2 separate regions of the Homo sapiens genome follow, and region 1 is linked to region 2. The links are contacts of gene promoters, found by promoter capture Hi-C in human tissues and cell types (Jung and others, 2019). All regions are on one chromosome and are shown on one strand. Each heading gives the region's core, a stretch centred on a gene start or on the middle of the fragment in contact. The rest is flanking DNA. Distances are from core to core; before and after follow the strand shown.

Region 1 (6,720 bases), core at 3,066-5,565, 810 kb before region 2:
TAAGGTCTGTGATTTAAATGAGCCACGCTGTTCCTTAATTCCTCTTGAAGTGGGAAATTGGAAATGATGGCATTCTCATCTTTCTTGAGAAGGTCCTCAGTTTATCCATATTGTAAAATGAACTCAACAATACCAATCTGTTTCCACCAAGGGGTGAAGCAAGGTTGTGTGAAATGAGAGTTCATCACATACTTTGAGATCCTGGACTGAAAAAAACATCTGAAGCTCTAAAGTGCAATTAGCACTTCCCTCTTTCTTTTCTTTTTTTCTTTTTGGCATAAAGTTTGAAAAAGTTACTTTAAAACGTTCTGTTAAATTGATTTTCAGGATCGTGAATGCTGAAAGATTGACAGCTCTGGGAAGAGCGCCATCTCTCAAGTGTGCATTTTACAAGGAGCAGTGAGTTGAGATTTCCCCGCTATGAGGCCTCTGCTGAGGTGACGTGCCCAGCACTCAGCGCAGGAGGGAAGCGTTTCTGTGACTTCTGTAGCTTTTGCTCTATTCACCATTGATTCCAAGTTACTGTGACTTCACAGACATCTTCATGAATGTGAACTGAGTCACCTCCAACTTGTGCCGTCTGGGTCACTGAATGTGGTAACAAGGGAGAACTGGGAAGCAGGTCCAACTTACCTTCAACCTCAGCTGTCTGACTCAGGCAGAGATTGACTGCAAACACCAGAAACATAAACATAGCCCAGCTGGCAAAAGTAAAGGAGAAAGTGGAGTTTTATTGCAATTGGCCATCGTATGTTTACACAGGAAGCAAAGTACAGCTGAAGCCCTAAGAGAAATCTAGGAAATGAAGGGCCTCTCTTTGTTTTTCAAACGTCCCCAGGTCTCTCTCATTATTGCTTTTCTCGGCTCCAACTCTCCTTTGCTTGTACACAGTCTGAATGGTCGCCTCAGCCTCACTCAGCTTCTACTTTCTCAGCCTCTACAAATCCCCTCAGACATCTAACTGATGAGGCTCTGTGTGTTTCTTGGTTTACATGAAAAAAATTCAGAGAGAGAGAGAGAGAGAAAGAGAGAGTGTGTAAGTACAGCTGATGGCTTGGTGAACCTATAGAATGGACTTCCTGGTCATTCCTAGTGTAATCCAGAGATGATCACAGCTATGTGGGTAGGAGCAGGGTAGAAGGAGATGGCGGCAGATAGGCAGGACTTGGCATTACTAGTCCATTCTTCAGTTGATGGATGGCTTTGTAATATAGCAACTGATTAGACTGAACTGCATGTCCCAGGATTCCAGAATCCCTTTCCTGATGTGTTCCCATTAGGGTAGGCTGCAGAAAGTTTCTTTTCATAAGATCTGGAGACTGGAGCTGAAGCAGTAGCCATTTTGTAGCTTCCACACACTGTCAGTTGTCTGTAGGCTCACCTCTTTGGCATGAGGCAGCAGCTAGGCAGGTCTGCATAGCTTCTCCAACTTTTGGGCTATGTGTGTGCCTATCTCCAAGATGAAGGGCTCTGGCCTCTGTAGGAAAAGCAGACCATCAAGGTCAGAGGCAGTGAGCACTGACATAGGTTCCAGTGCATCCTTGTGAGCATCAGCTTATGCAGTGGCTTTCAGCTTCTTGCTCTCCTTTACTTTACATCCATCTTCCCTTTCCCCGGCCTGCCTTGCAGGCCCTAAGCTCCAGTATAAGATGGGAAGACAACAGCCTTGAGAAACTGCTTAACCAGTGCCACAATTAAGTAAAGTCAAATCCCTGTAAGAAATCCTTTCATATGCTTGTATACATATCCCTTCTAGTAGTTCTGCCTCTCTGATTGAGTCCTGACAGATACAGTAGATCCTCAGCTCCTCACCTTGCTGACAGAGTGATTCCTTACTTGCTAGCAAGATGGTAAGTGATTCTGTCTTCTTTTTGGTATCCAGATCCTCTGCTCAAACCTGTATTCTTTGGGTGGAAATTTCTTGTATTTTTGGTCTTCTTTGGATTACCCTCTACCTATAGGTACAGTAAATTAATTCACGCGAAGGTGTTAGCAGCTAGAAGACCATTGAGTGATTAGGGACAACCCCCCAAATGTCCTCCTAGCCTGCCTTTATCTCCTACTGCTCCTCTCTTTGCTCATGACAGTGCAGCTATGATTATCTTCTTCCAGAGTCTTGAATATGCCAATATGATTTCATATTTGCCACTTCTTCATGTACTGTTCCCTCTACCTGGAATGTTCCTCCTCTGCCTCATCACATGTCTTCTGTCTTCACTTTATCTTTAAGTCTTATTCAAAATGTACCTTTCTTGAAGGGGCCTTCCCAAATAACCACATATTACATTGAACCTGTGGAAGCATGAAAGTTATTTGGAACATTGTCTTAAAAAGGAGCTAGAGGCTGTATTTGGGTTTGAAAGGAGAGTGTGCGGTGATTGATTAGCAATGTCTGCCATGGGTGTAGGATATAGAGCTGTGGGATTGTTTCTGTGTATTTTTTCTCTTCGGCTTAAAGGATCTTGCATTAACTAAAACCCCAAATTCTAGTGTTGCTGCTGACTTGCTATATGATCTTCACTTATTCATGTGACCAGTGCCTAACCTACCTCACCAACAAGTCCCCACAGTTAGGTCATAGATCATCAGCACATGCAGGTAGTGGTGGGTGGGTGGGTGGGAGTGGAGGAGGGTGTCCAAAAGATAAATGTGAATATTCAATGACATTTGAAGTTCTTAAGGAAGCAAGACAGTTTTAGTGCCTTATGTTTAGAAATTAAAAAGAAAACAAAAGAAAAATCCACATGGAAATGACTCCTGGTTGCCCATTTTCTGAGGGAACTAAAAGGAAGGAGGAAAGAAAGGGGATATCTCACAGTGCTGGTTGTGCAGTTACTAACCAGCACTGTGAACTTTCAGCAAGTCCATCAACCTCTCAGGACATTGGTTTTCTGATCCGTAGCAGACATATTGCACTTACTCTAAGAGTCAGTCAAACTTTCTATAATAAAAATGTTGGCAAGATGGAGAGATTCTGAAAGTGGTGAAATTAAAGGATAGGAAAGAGATTCTCTGGGGAAAATAGTGGACTTACTGGCTGCTGATGCAGGACTGCAGCATTGCTTTAGGGAAGGGGGGAGTCTTCAAATATCTTTCCCCTGATGTCTCTCACCAGTTTTGATCTGTGACTTCAAATTAGTGTGTGAATGACAAGACACTACAAAGAAACATTAGGTGTTTCTGCAGGCATCCTTTGTGTGTCCAGGGGAGGAGAGAGGGCAGAGCTGGGGATCGGCGTTAGTCCAGAGAGATACCACTGCCTGCCAACTGCCCCTTGGGGAGCTCAGCAGTAAGCTGGGGAGTTACATGACTCCAGGCCAGTCTGATCAATAAAGGGCATCCTTACTATAGCAACACAGCACAGTGGCGGGGCTGCCGTTGATCACGTGCCCCCTTCCCCCGACGCTGTGGAGTTTGGAGCAGGCAATTAGAACTTGGAGGCAGCTTCCCTCAAAGGTTGAAGAGCTGACAGATGAGCAAAGAGCTTTCCTGCTCCTCCATCCCAGTGTAGCCATGGAAAGCTTTTAGCTTACTCACCTTTGGTATTAGCCATTGTTGGGTTATATTAGAAAAATCACCGAAGTGGCTTGGGAATGAGGCTTAGCATGGAGAAGTCACCAAAAGAAGAGAATTCTTTTAAATAATAGCAATAACAATAATCATAGTTAACTTTTATTGTCTGCGTGACTATTTGATTAATGTCTCCCCCTCTAGCCTGGAGTTTCCAGTAGTGAAGAGAAGACAAGTATTTTCACACTCTTTTATATCCACTGTCTTGTGGCCATTCCATATTTACTGAATGAAAGAGTCAACTGTTAATTGTGAGTTAGGCACCATTGGCATAGATCCTCTTGTTCAGTCCTGACAATAATCCTCTAAGGCAAAGACTGTTATTACCCCCATTTGATTGACAGAGAAAAAAGAGGCAGCAAGGGTTTTATAGTTATTAAAGCAGGGTTTCTTAACTCTGGCAACACTGTCATTTTCGGTCAGACAATTGTTGTGGGGGGCTGTCCTGTGCATTGTAGAATGTTTAGCAGCACCCGTTGCCTCTATTCACTTGAAGCCAGCAGCACAGCTTCCCCTCCCCATTTGTGACAGCAAGAAATGTCTCTAGATGTTGCCAAATGTCCCCTTGAGGGAGAAATAACCCCCACTTTTTAGTAGGAAAGATGGCACGTCTTGCCTGCCCTTCACCGTGTGCATGAATGGTGATATGTGCTACATTTATTTTAGGTGATGTGTTGCTCTGGTGCAGCTTAAGTGGGGGTCTTTTGTTAGGCTGCTTGAGTGTGTTTTTGTGTGTGTGAGCAGGGGATACTCAGCCAGGAGGCATATCATGTTTGGGCTCTGGGCTCATGGCACATCAGTGATAAACTGGGCAGGTCCCTCAGCCTGAAACCTGGAAGAAGGGAGAAGACTCCAGGGAGTTTGGGAGGTTCCTTCTGAGAATCAAATTAGGTCTGAGAGAAAATTGTATTGTCTGTCCTGGAATGATTTTTGAAGGCAGTCTAATATATGTAAACAGCAAAGACTTAGGAGACTTTTAGACTCTGATGTGAATGCTTGTGCACAGGTCATTTAATTCCTCTGAACCTGTTTCACATCTGTAAAGTCAGGGAACCTGGGAAGACTGACTTCAGTGATGGTCAGTTCTGTGGCACCCAGGCTGACAACGGCTCCTACATTGAGTGTGTGTGTGTGTGTGTGTGTGTGTGTGTGTGTAAAAAAAAGGGATAGGCCAAGCCAAAGTTTCCCCAGGGACGACATCCTTATCTCTGCTCCTGTCCTCATAATTGTAACCTGCATTGGGCATTTTCTGTGTGCCAGACACTGTTCTAAGAGTTTCATATGTATTAATTCACTTAATCCTCATAATCCCTGACAAACACAGCCCTCTCCAAATGCCCAGCCAGCTAATCACAGAACTGGATTTCAATATATTTCCTTCATTGACATTGTTTAGAGAGCTAGTGGAAATTCTTATTATCAATGAATTCCAAAAAATAAAACCAAAAAACACATGATTTTAATTTCGATCTGCTGTATATAGAATTTTGGGATCCATGATTTTTTTTATTTCATATAATATAGGAAGAGTGTTTCATAATTATTCTTAAAGCAATTTGGGACCTCCTTGCTGATGGTAGAAGCAAAATAACTTCATGTGGTTTCCCCCACAATACAATACATACTGCATAATTTTCCTATTTGGAAGAATGATGTTTTCCAGATGCAATCATATATAAACCTAATTATCAAATGTCCAGCAGGGCATAATTTAAATTAATTTATTCTACTTTTTTAAAAAATGCATGTCTTCCATACTGAGATATTTTATTTATACTTTAGAAAACTATAGAATTTGAATTTTTAACTATTATGCTTAATTCCTCAAAGGAAGATAATTGCTTTCTGAAAATTCTTTTTTTTTTCTGTAGCAAATATCCTGTTCATTTTGTGATTTTGTTGAAGTAGTTCTACTCTTTGGGTTTGGAAGTCCAATAGTCCAGGTAAGACAGTTGGGTTAAGTCTTCCACTTGTCAGCATAAGCTTATAGTGTACATAGACTTATATTTTAATATATTCTCTTCTACCAGCTTGTTTAAAGCAATTGTTTACAAACTTTTTGATGTCACATCACTATCAACAAAACATTTTCTAGCATGTATCCCTAATGTGTGTACAGTTATTTATAAATTATATACATTCTTGTTGTGTATTAATATCAGTAAAGTTGTGCTTGTTTCCTTTTAAAAAACTAAAACGAAGATAACTACACAGTGTAATGTTTCCACATCCATATGAGTCATTGTCACACATCCCATTTGAGAGTCCACTGTGACAGGAAAGAGTTGCATAGTCTATTTTCTTATTTAATAATGGGAGATATTATCCATCCTGCTTATCTCACAGAGTTGAAAGAGCATCAAATGGAATAATAGTGATTATTAGAACTGTAATTAATAGAACTGTATCAGTTAGCTATGGCTGTGTAACAAACCACTCCAAAATCAAGTGGCTTAAGGAAATAATTTATTAGCTTGTGATTCTGTGGTTCAGCAATTTGGATTGGGCTCTGCTGAGTGGTTCTGTTGTTGGTTTTAGCTCAGCTCATCTTTTGGTGACACATCAGCTGGTGGCTAAGGAAGGGCTAGATAAGGTAAGATGGCCTCATTCACCTATCTGGGGCTTGGTATTGGCTATTAGATGGGACCCCCTCTTCATGTGGTTCTTGTCCTCAAGTTGGCAGGGTTGGGCTTTTTCACATGGTCATTAGAGTACTCTGAGAAGATGAGAGCAGAAATGGCAAAGCCTCTTAAGGCCTAAACTTAGAACTGGTATGTCTATGTGTCTGTCACTTTTGTCACATTTTGCTGGTTAAAGGAAGTCACAAGTCCAGTTCAAATTCAAGGGTTGAAGAGAAAGACTTAGTTTTTTGATGGAAGTTGCAGAGTGCTTGAAATTGGGTTATTTTAATGATTCTTAAAAATAAACCTAAGAGTTTAGTACTATTGACGTGTTCATTTTATAGACAGGAAAACTGAAGTGCAGAGAGGTTGGATCATGGCCTTATCAGTACATGGTGCTATTATTCTCTCTATTTAACAGTTGTGAAAACTGAGGCTTAGACCCAACTGGCACATTCAGCATCACAAAAGAAATAAATAATGGAATGGTAAAGCAACCCCAATCTTCTTCCTGCAAGAGCCTGGCAGT
Region 2 (6,823 bases), core at 3,493-5,992:
ATCATTCCTGGGGAAGCCGCCTCTGCCACCCCTCCTCCGCCCCCTCAGCCCCTCGCCCCTCTGCTTCCCGGGGAGGCCTGGCTTGCTTGGGTTTCAAAGGTTCAGCCCACTCCGCACCAGGGTCCCTGGGCACCTTTGAGCCCTTCGGGGCTCCCTGGCCGGGTCAGAGGAAATTCAGCCCTTTTTCTCGCCACTCAGCACCCTGCAGTCTTAATTCACAAGGCCCGAGTTCCCTTGGAGGGACGCGCGCGCGTCGAGCCCTCATCCCCACGCGGCGGTGCAAGCGCATGAATGGACACTGGAAGGCCGTGCAAGTTTGGTCTGAGCCGCCCCCGCTGGCTTTTAGAGTTAGAGTCCCAGCCCACCTGCGGTGGAGCAACTAGCTTCTTGACTGCCCTGAATTTTGTGACATAGAGCCCCCCGTGGCCCAAAATCAAGAAACTTACTTGTTTTGTCATGGAGTCAATGAGGCGCACGTAGAAATCCTGCTCCGTCCTTATCCCTAGGGTTGGAAATGGGGGAAGGGAGGAGAATTAAGTGAGAGGTTACGGAGGGTGGGTGGACAATAATTAACAACAACAAAAAATAACAACAAAACCCCCACACACATATCACGAAAGGGGCTCCAAGGCTGATTGGAACTCCCACTGTCCTGGAAAATACAGCCACGATCTCCCTTCCCCAGTGTCCAGAGAGGTGCTGCTGGCCTTGCCTTAGCGCTCCTGGAAGCCAGACGCCAAGTTCTGCAGCTGGGACTGGGATGGGGGTACCCCGACTTGTCTGTTCTCACGGCAAGAGTCCCTCTGCTCTCGCACACAGCCTTCAAGGCCATGACCCTTCAGCCCCTAAGCCCAAGGGGCCATGGGCCTGCAGCCTGGGCCAAGCCAAAGGAACAGGCCTCAGGAAGGGGAGGAAGAATGAAAGTGGCTCAGGGAGGGATGAGGCACTACACCTGGCCCCAGGTAAACGCGAGACCGATAAGGCTCTTGGGCCACTAGGAGCCTCCTCAGGTGAAACCTCCTGGGGCGAAATTTAGGAGAGGCTGGTTCACCTCAAATAAAGCGGATGACTGACCTTCGCTGGAGGATTTCGTCCACCTGGAGCTCCCTGCGCCCCCTGCCCAGACCCGGAGCCCCAGGGTGAGGCCATAGACCCGACCCGGGCCTCACCATTGCTGTAGAGAAGCTGAAGCCGGTAGTGAATTCCGTTATTGGTCTTTTCGCTGTTGGCTTCCTGGGTTGCATCAGGACGCAAAGACACAAGAGATGCAGGAGAGAGGTCTGCGTGAGCGAGTGGACCAACTTTCGAGGCAACTTTCCCCAAGCCGGGACCCCCGCTGGCGAGCCAGGCAGCCACGGTAGCAGCAGAAATTGTGGCCAATTGTGATCCCTCCTCCGCCCCCTGTTCCTGACTGCTCCCTCTCTCCCAAAAGAAAATTCCGTCGGGCGCACACAGGCTATCCTCTTTCCAGGGCCTAGGGGCTCGTGCCCCGGCCACCAGAGGCAGGCGGTGCGTAATCTGGTAGTGGAGGGCGGGTTCATTCCGGGTGCCCATGGCTGTGGATTGTAGAGCCAGGCTTGCCTCTCTCTAGCTCTGGGGGCTCCGTGCGAACTTTTCTGGAGAAGGAGCCAGTGGACCAGGACCCTGGGTTCGTCTGGGATGGGAAGTGGCTTGGGGGACCCCCACATAGAAGTGTGTTATGGATGCTTTGCACTCAAGGAAGGGCGCGCTGCCCAAGGCTCCCGGGCCTGCTCCCGAGCCGAGCCGGGGACGAGGGGCGACAGCGCTGCGCCCACTTACTTTTTCCTTCTCCACGAACCCCACAAACGCTGTCCTCTCGATCTCCACGGGCTGGCCCTGTCTGTCGTAGAGGGCCAGGACGAAGTGGAAGAAGTTGGATTTCCGCAGATTGGAAGGCGGCTGCTTCTCAAAGTGAGCCCGGGCCAGACCCACCCCGCTGCGGCCAAAGACGCAGAGTTAGATGGCTAAACCGGACGCCGACCCGCGCCCCTTGTCACCCTGTACACACACTCGAACCCTCAAACACCCACCTCCTCTTCCCCCAAAACATCCAGTGGGCGCTCTTCACGCCCCTTCAGGCGACATAGACCCAGCTGACAACGGGACACACATGTCCCCTCATGTCCTCGTCCTCTCCGCCAAGGACGGGTGCGTCCTCAGAACTCGCTGAAGAGGTGTGAAAGTTTTGTTTGGGTTTTGCGCGCGAGATGAAACTCTATAAGCATTTACTCCTACCTGACACGCACTGCGTGGGGAGGAAGAAAAGTGGCGGTGGATGAAGTGAACCCACCTTCGCGGAGTAGAACCCACAGTTATATTCCGGCACCCCTCGAATCTCACGTCTCAGCTAGCAGGGCAGGTGGGAATGGATGGAAAACATGCTCGGCGTCTCGCCGCAGCAGCCACCCTCCAGGAACCCCTCAAGCTCTGGCCAACTGCGAGTGCCCGGCCTTGGGAAGCCACATCCCCCCACCACCAAAAAGCATGTGGAGAAGGGTCCGAGGGCGGGGCTCAGAACTGTCGCGGGTGGTCGCTGTGAAAAAGGGAAGAGGGGTGTTTTCTTAAAGACCTGTCCTAACAAAGTTTCGCTGTTCCGCAGAAATCCTCACACTCATTCCAGAAATCCTAAAGGCCAGGGCTGCTGGCTCAGTGCGCCGGCCGGCGATGGGAGGCTGGAGCGCCTGGGGCGCCAGGCGGCCACTGACAGCCGGACCTGCCCAACACAAGCGCGCACAGGCACACACACACACATAGAAGAACACACACGAGCGCCCCGCGCACACACTTTCACTTCCAGCCCAGTTACCCAATTCACTCTCACTACCACCCACCCCCATCCTAATACTCAGTGGGGATGGGAACAGTGTTGGGGACACTTGTCCCCAGCCCAGGGAAGCTGGAGATGATGTAATTAGTCATCTTCCTTCTTCCCCTTCCGCACTCTGAGTCCGATAGGGCCTGGGGCCACCAGATCTCCCACTGTCCCAAGCTCAGCTGGTGGCTTAATGGGGGGAAAAAGGCCATTTCTCACTTGGGACCAGGAGCCTGGGAAAGAGCCTTGGGTGTGCCCAGGAAAGTTCCCTCAGGTCAACCTCCAAGGGCAATGCCTCCAGGCCACACAGTCTAGTGTCTAGGGAGCTGCGAGTGAGAGAAGGGCTGGAAGGGGCCATGGTGACAGGGGCTGGAGAAGACTTTTGGGAGATATCAGAATTAAAGTTGGGAGTTGCTATTCTACCGGTAGACTAAGAAAAAACTGAAAGACAGAGAGGGAGGGAAGGAGAACGAGATAGCAGAAATAAGAGAAGACTCAGGGGAGAAATGGGACGAAAAAACAGGAAAGCCAGAGAGGTAAGGAAAGGAGAAAGAGGAGAAAGGAGGGAAGCTGAAGAAAGAAGAGAAAGAAAATGGAGAGAGGAAGGGAGGAAGGAAAAGAGTGAGGGAGAAATTAAGGGAAGGTGGGGGAAAGAAATGAGAGAAGGAAATGAAAGAAAGAAGAAAGAAAAGAAGGCAGGAAGAGAGACAGGAAAGAACGAAGAACGAAAGAAATGGAAGGAGGGAAGAGGGGAAGAAAGGAAGAGGAAGGAGAAGAGAAGAAAATAAAGGGGGGAGAAAGGAAAGAAGGAAGAAAGAAAAAAGAAAGGCAGGAAGAGGAAAGAGAAAGAAAAAGGAAAAAGAAAAGGAGGAAAGAAAAAAAGAAAGAAAAAGAAAAAAGAAAGAAAAAGGAAGGAAGGAAGAGAAAGAAAGAAAGAAAAAAGAAAAGAGGGAAAGGAAGAGCGAAGGGAAAGAAGAAAAGAGAGCCGGCCGGAAAAGAAAGAGCAATCACATAAAAACATAAAACACAGATCTCCAACATGCTGTGTTGAGACGCCTCTTCTGGGTTAAAACAAAATGAAAACAGTCACAGACGAGGCAGGGGAAAGTGCTGGCAAAGCGTGGGCTCCTCGCAGACAGCTCCAGGTCCTCCGGCCGCAGGCGACGAAGGCAGAGCGGCTGGAGAGCGCGGAGCCCCGGCGGAGAGCGGAGCGCAGCGGCTGCGGACTCACCCCGCCGCCCGGCCCCGCGGCAGCAGCTGCCGCTGCCGCTGCCGCCTCCGCCTCCCGGCTCTCCCGCTCGCGGCTCACCTCGGCCGCGGTCCCCGCGCAGTACCCACCTCTGCGCCGCCGTGTTGGCGTCCAGCACCCCGGCGCCCTGCATCCACGTCCGCACCGCGTTCATGCCGCTGCCCAGCGGCTCTTCCTTCATGCTGCTTCCACTCCGTTGGATGCTTTCCTGAATCCCAAACATGAAAACAACCTTTTCTTGTGGAAAATCTCCTCCCCCTTGAAAAAAATTAAAAAAAAAAAAAAAGGAAAGAAAAGAAAGAAAAGAAAAGAAACAAAAACGCCAACCAGAGATTTTTTTTTTTCTCAGACGATGAACTCGCACTTAGAAGATCAAGGCGGGCTGGAAAGCAAATTTTTAAAAAATGTAAACCTCTGCTCAAAACTGAGCGATAACCCGAAAAAAAGAAGAAAGGGAAAATCCAACGAAAAGACCAAAATAATAAAATTAGAGATGTATGCTTGGCTGTTGGGGGTTGTTTGGTTGGTTGATTTTTGGTTTGGGTGCTTTTTTTTTTTTTTTGCTTTTTTTTTTTTTTTTTTGTAATGATCACAGGCCGGTGGAGGACAGGAGGGGCTGGAGTTTCCTTTTGTAGAGGTACCCTTCACTTGAAGAAGCAGGAAGAAAAAAAAAAAAAAAAAAAAAAAAAAAAAAAAAAAACCCTGATGGCAATTTAAGAAACAATAGACTCAACTCGCGCTGCCGGCTTTGCTACTTCAAGTGTCATTTTCCACAACCAGGCAAGTTTTTTCCTCTCTCTCTCTTTTTTTTTCCTCCTTCTCTCCCAACCAAAGATGTTTCTTTCCTTTGCGTGTAGATGAGGAGGACGCTGGTTGCCGTAGACAGATACACCAGAGAGGGTGGGGGGAAGGGGAGAGAGGGAGAGAGGAAAGGGGGGGAGGGAAAGAGAGATAGAGAGGAGAGGGAGAAAGAGAGAGGGGTGGACCCTGCTGGATGGAGATTCTGTTTTCTCCTTGCTAAAATAGAAGTGATTTGCAGGCTTTCCCTATGGAATCCAGTTTGACTTTCCCCAGAGCTAAACACAGGCACACTAACCCCAAAGGGAGGAGGCGGGGCCCGCGCATCGAGGCCCCGCCCCTTCATTTGCATAACGTCATCTTTCCGCCCACCGCAGCCAATCGCGGCCCGGGAGCCGGCTCGCTGGCGGCGCCAGGCCACGCTCTCTCATTAACATCCCGCTCCCGGTGGCGCAGGGGAGCCGGCCAAAGTTCCTCGCAAAGTGGCGAGCGAAGGAGCGCTGAGCACTGACGTCTGGGCTGGGGAGGAGCGGGTCCGAGCGAGGACGGAGAGGGGACAGAGGGAAAGGGAGGCGGGTGTCTTCCTCAGGAATTTGAGCTGGGGATCTGCATCCTGGCCATTGCAGTCCTTTAGCATCCTCGCCGCGCCCTGAGCGCGCTGGAGGCTCGCAGGCTGCGCCCTCCCAGGGCTGATGCCGCGTCCTGCTCCGCCGTTCTGGGACGTCGGGGACAAAAGTGGAGGAGACGGGAGAGCCCGGGCAGAAAAAGCAGGACGCGCGTCCCAGGTGCCCACCTCTTCGCTTTGAGGCGGGGGCGGTGGGATGGAATATGGGTGCGCGAGGTCGGGGCTGGTAACTCTCGGAGGGGCACGGCCTCCACGCTGGGAGGGATGAATGGACGCTGGGCCCCGGCAAATGAGGCGCTGTGGGTCCCCAGGAAGTGGGGTACCAGGCTCTACTCCCACCCCGGCCTCTGAAACGCTTCTCTCTCGGCCGCTAGCCTAGAGGCTGCCAGGGTTGGGCACTGTTCTCACTCACACGCTCACCTCTCTCGGGCAGTCCTCGAGATATGTGAATGGTGGAATGAATGCTCTCACTGGGGCTGTGTCAGGATGCGTTTTTAAATTTTCTCAAATTAAATGCCAACCCCTCATTCCCCACCCCAAGTAGTTGGTTCGTTTGTTTTTAGAGTAACTACCAAAGCAACAGCAATGTTAACCGTCCTTGATTAGCTGGTTATTTGGTGTAGGGTTTTTCTCATCCTCCTTTATTCTTCCTGTTAAAAAGGAGGGCTTGAACAAATCCTTCCTAACTCTGTCTCTGCCATATGAAAAGGGTGGGGGGAGAAGAGAAGGAAGGTGGGGAGAAAGGACAAAAAAGGAAGAAGGGGAAGAGAAAATGGGAAGGAAGGAGGGAGAGAGAAAGGAGAGAAGGAGAAGGAACGAATGGAAATGGGAGAGATGGAAGGAAAAAGGGAAAGAAAAAAGGACGAAATTGTCTCCCTCCTCAGGCTTTTCAGCATGTATCTTTGTGGCTGGCAAAGGAAATAGCTAGAAGTTTCTGGGTAATGTACCCCATCATTTTTTAGCAGGTTGTAACCTCTAATAAGCACATGGTGAACTTCTGTTTCATTGCCCTCAAAGGAACTCCCTGACTGCAGCCAAATCTGCTAAGGACTCCTTCGGGGAAATTATCTGCCAGAAATCCAGGTCCCCTTTCTGCTGGCCTTCCTTGGTCCTTTGATTTAGGAAGCTCATGGGGTCAGTGATGGAAAAGTACACATGCCCATGTTGAATAGAGACAGGCAAGAGTTATGCTTTGTGCTCTTGGCAGAGCAGTGGAGCCACTTCCTGATTCCTAAACTGGATGAAAGAGTGTGGTCCTGGCCTGCAGTGCATGGCCACTGTCCTCAAACACTGCTTTATCTCCTGTGCACGAGGCCTG

The links. The method cuts DNA at HindIII sites, captures the fragments that hold promoters and counts their contacts. A contact is called where the count stands out against the background at its distance.
Region 1: a contact is called between a fragment that was not itself captured here and the fragment with the promoter of EBF1 in region 2, in 1 of the 25 tissues and cell types used here (mesendoderm cells).

The regions. Positions count from the first base shown.
Region 1 is chr5:158,287,362-158,294,081 of GRCh38, forward strand. No RefSeq gene overlaps it. Among named protein-coding and RNA genes, the nearest start is that of LINC02227, 120 kb to the right of the region's middle. The HindIII fragment of the contact is 5,538 bases long and covers 1,547-6,720 here.
Region 2 is chr5:159,095,174-159,101,996 of GRCh38, forward strand. It overlaps EBF1 (EBF transcription factor 1), which reads right to left and starts at 4,743. Exons shown (of 16, transcript NM_024007.5): 1 at 4,172-4,743; 2 at 1,801-1,957; 3 at 1,170-1,233; 4 at 447-502. The coding sequence starts at 4,305. It overlaps LINC02202 (long intergenic non-protein coding RNA 2202), which reads left to right and starts at 5,310. Exons shown (of 3, transcript NR_109890.1): 1 at 5,310-5,665. RefSeq lists enhancers at 592-1,485, 2,380-3,273, 5,023-5,651, 5,652-6,278 and a silencer at 3,916-4,205. The HindIII fragment of the contact is 15,907 bases long and covers 1-6,823 here.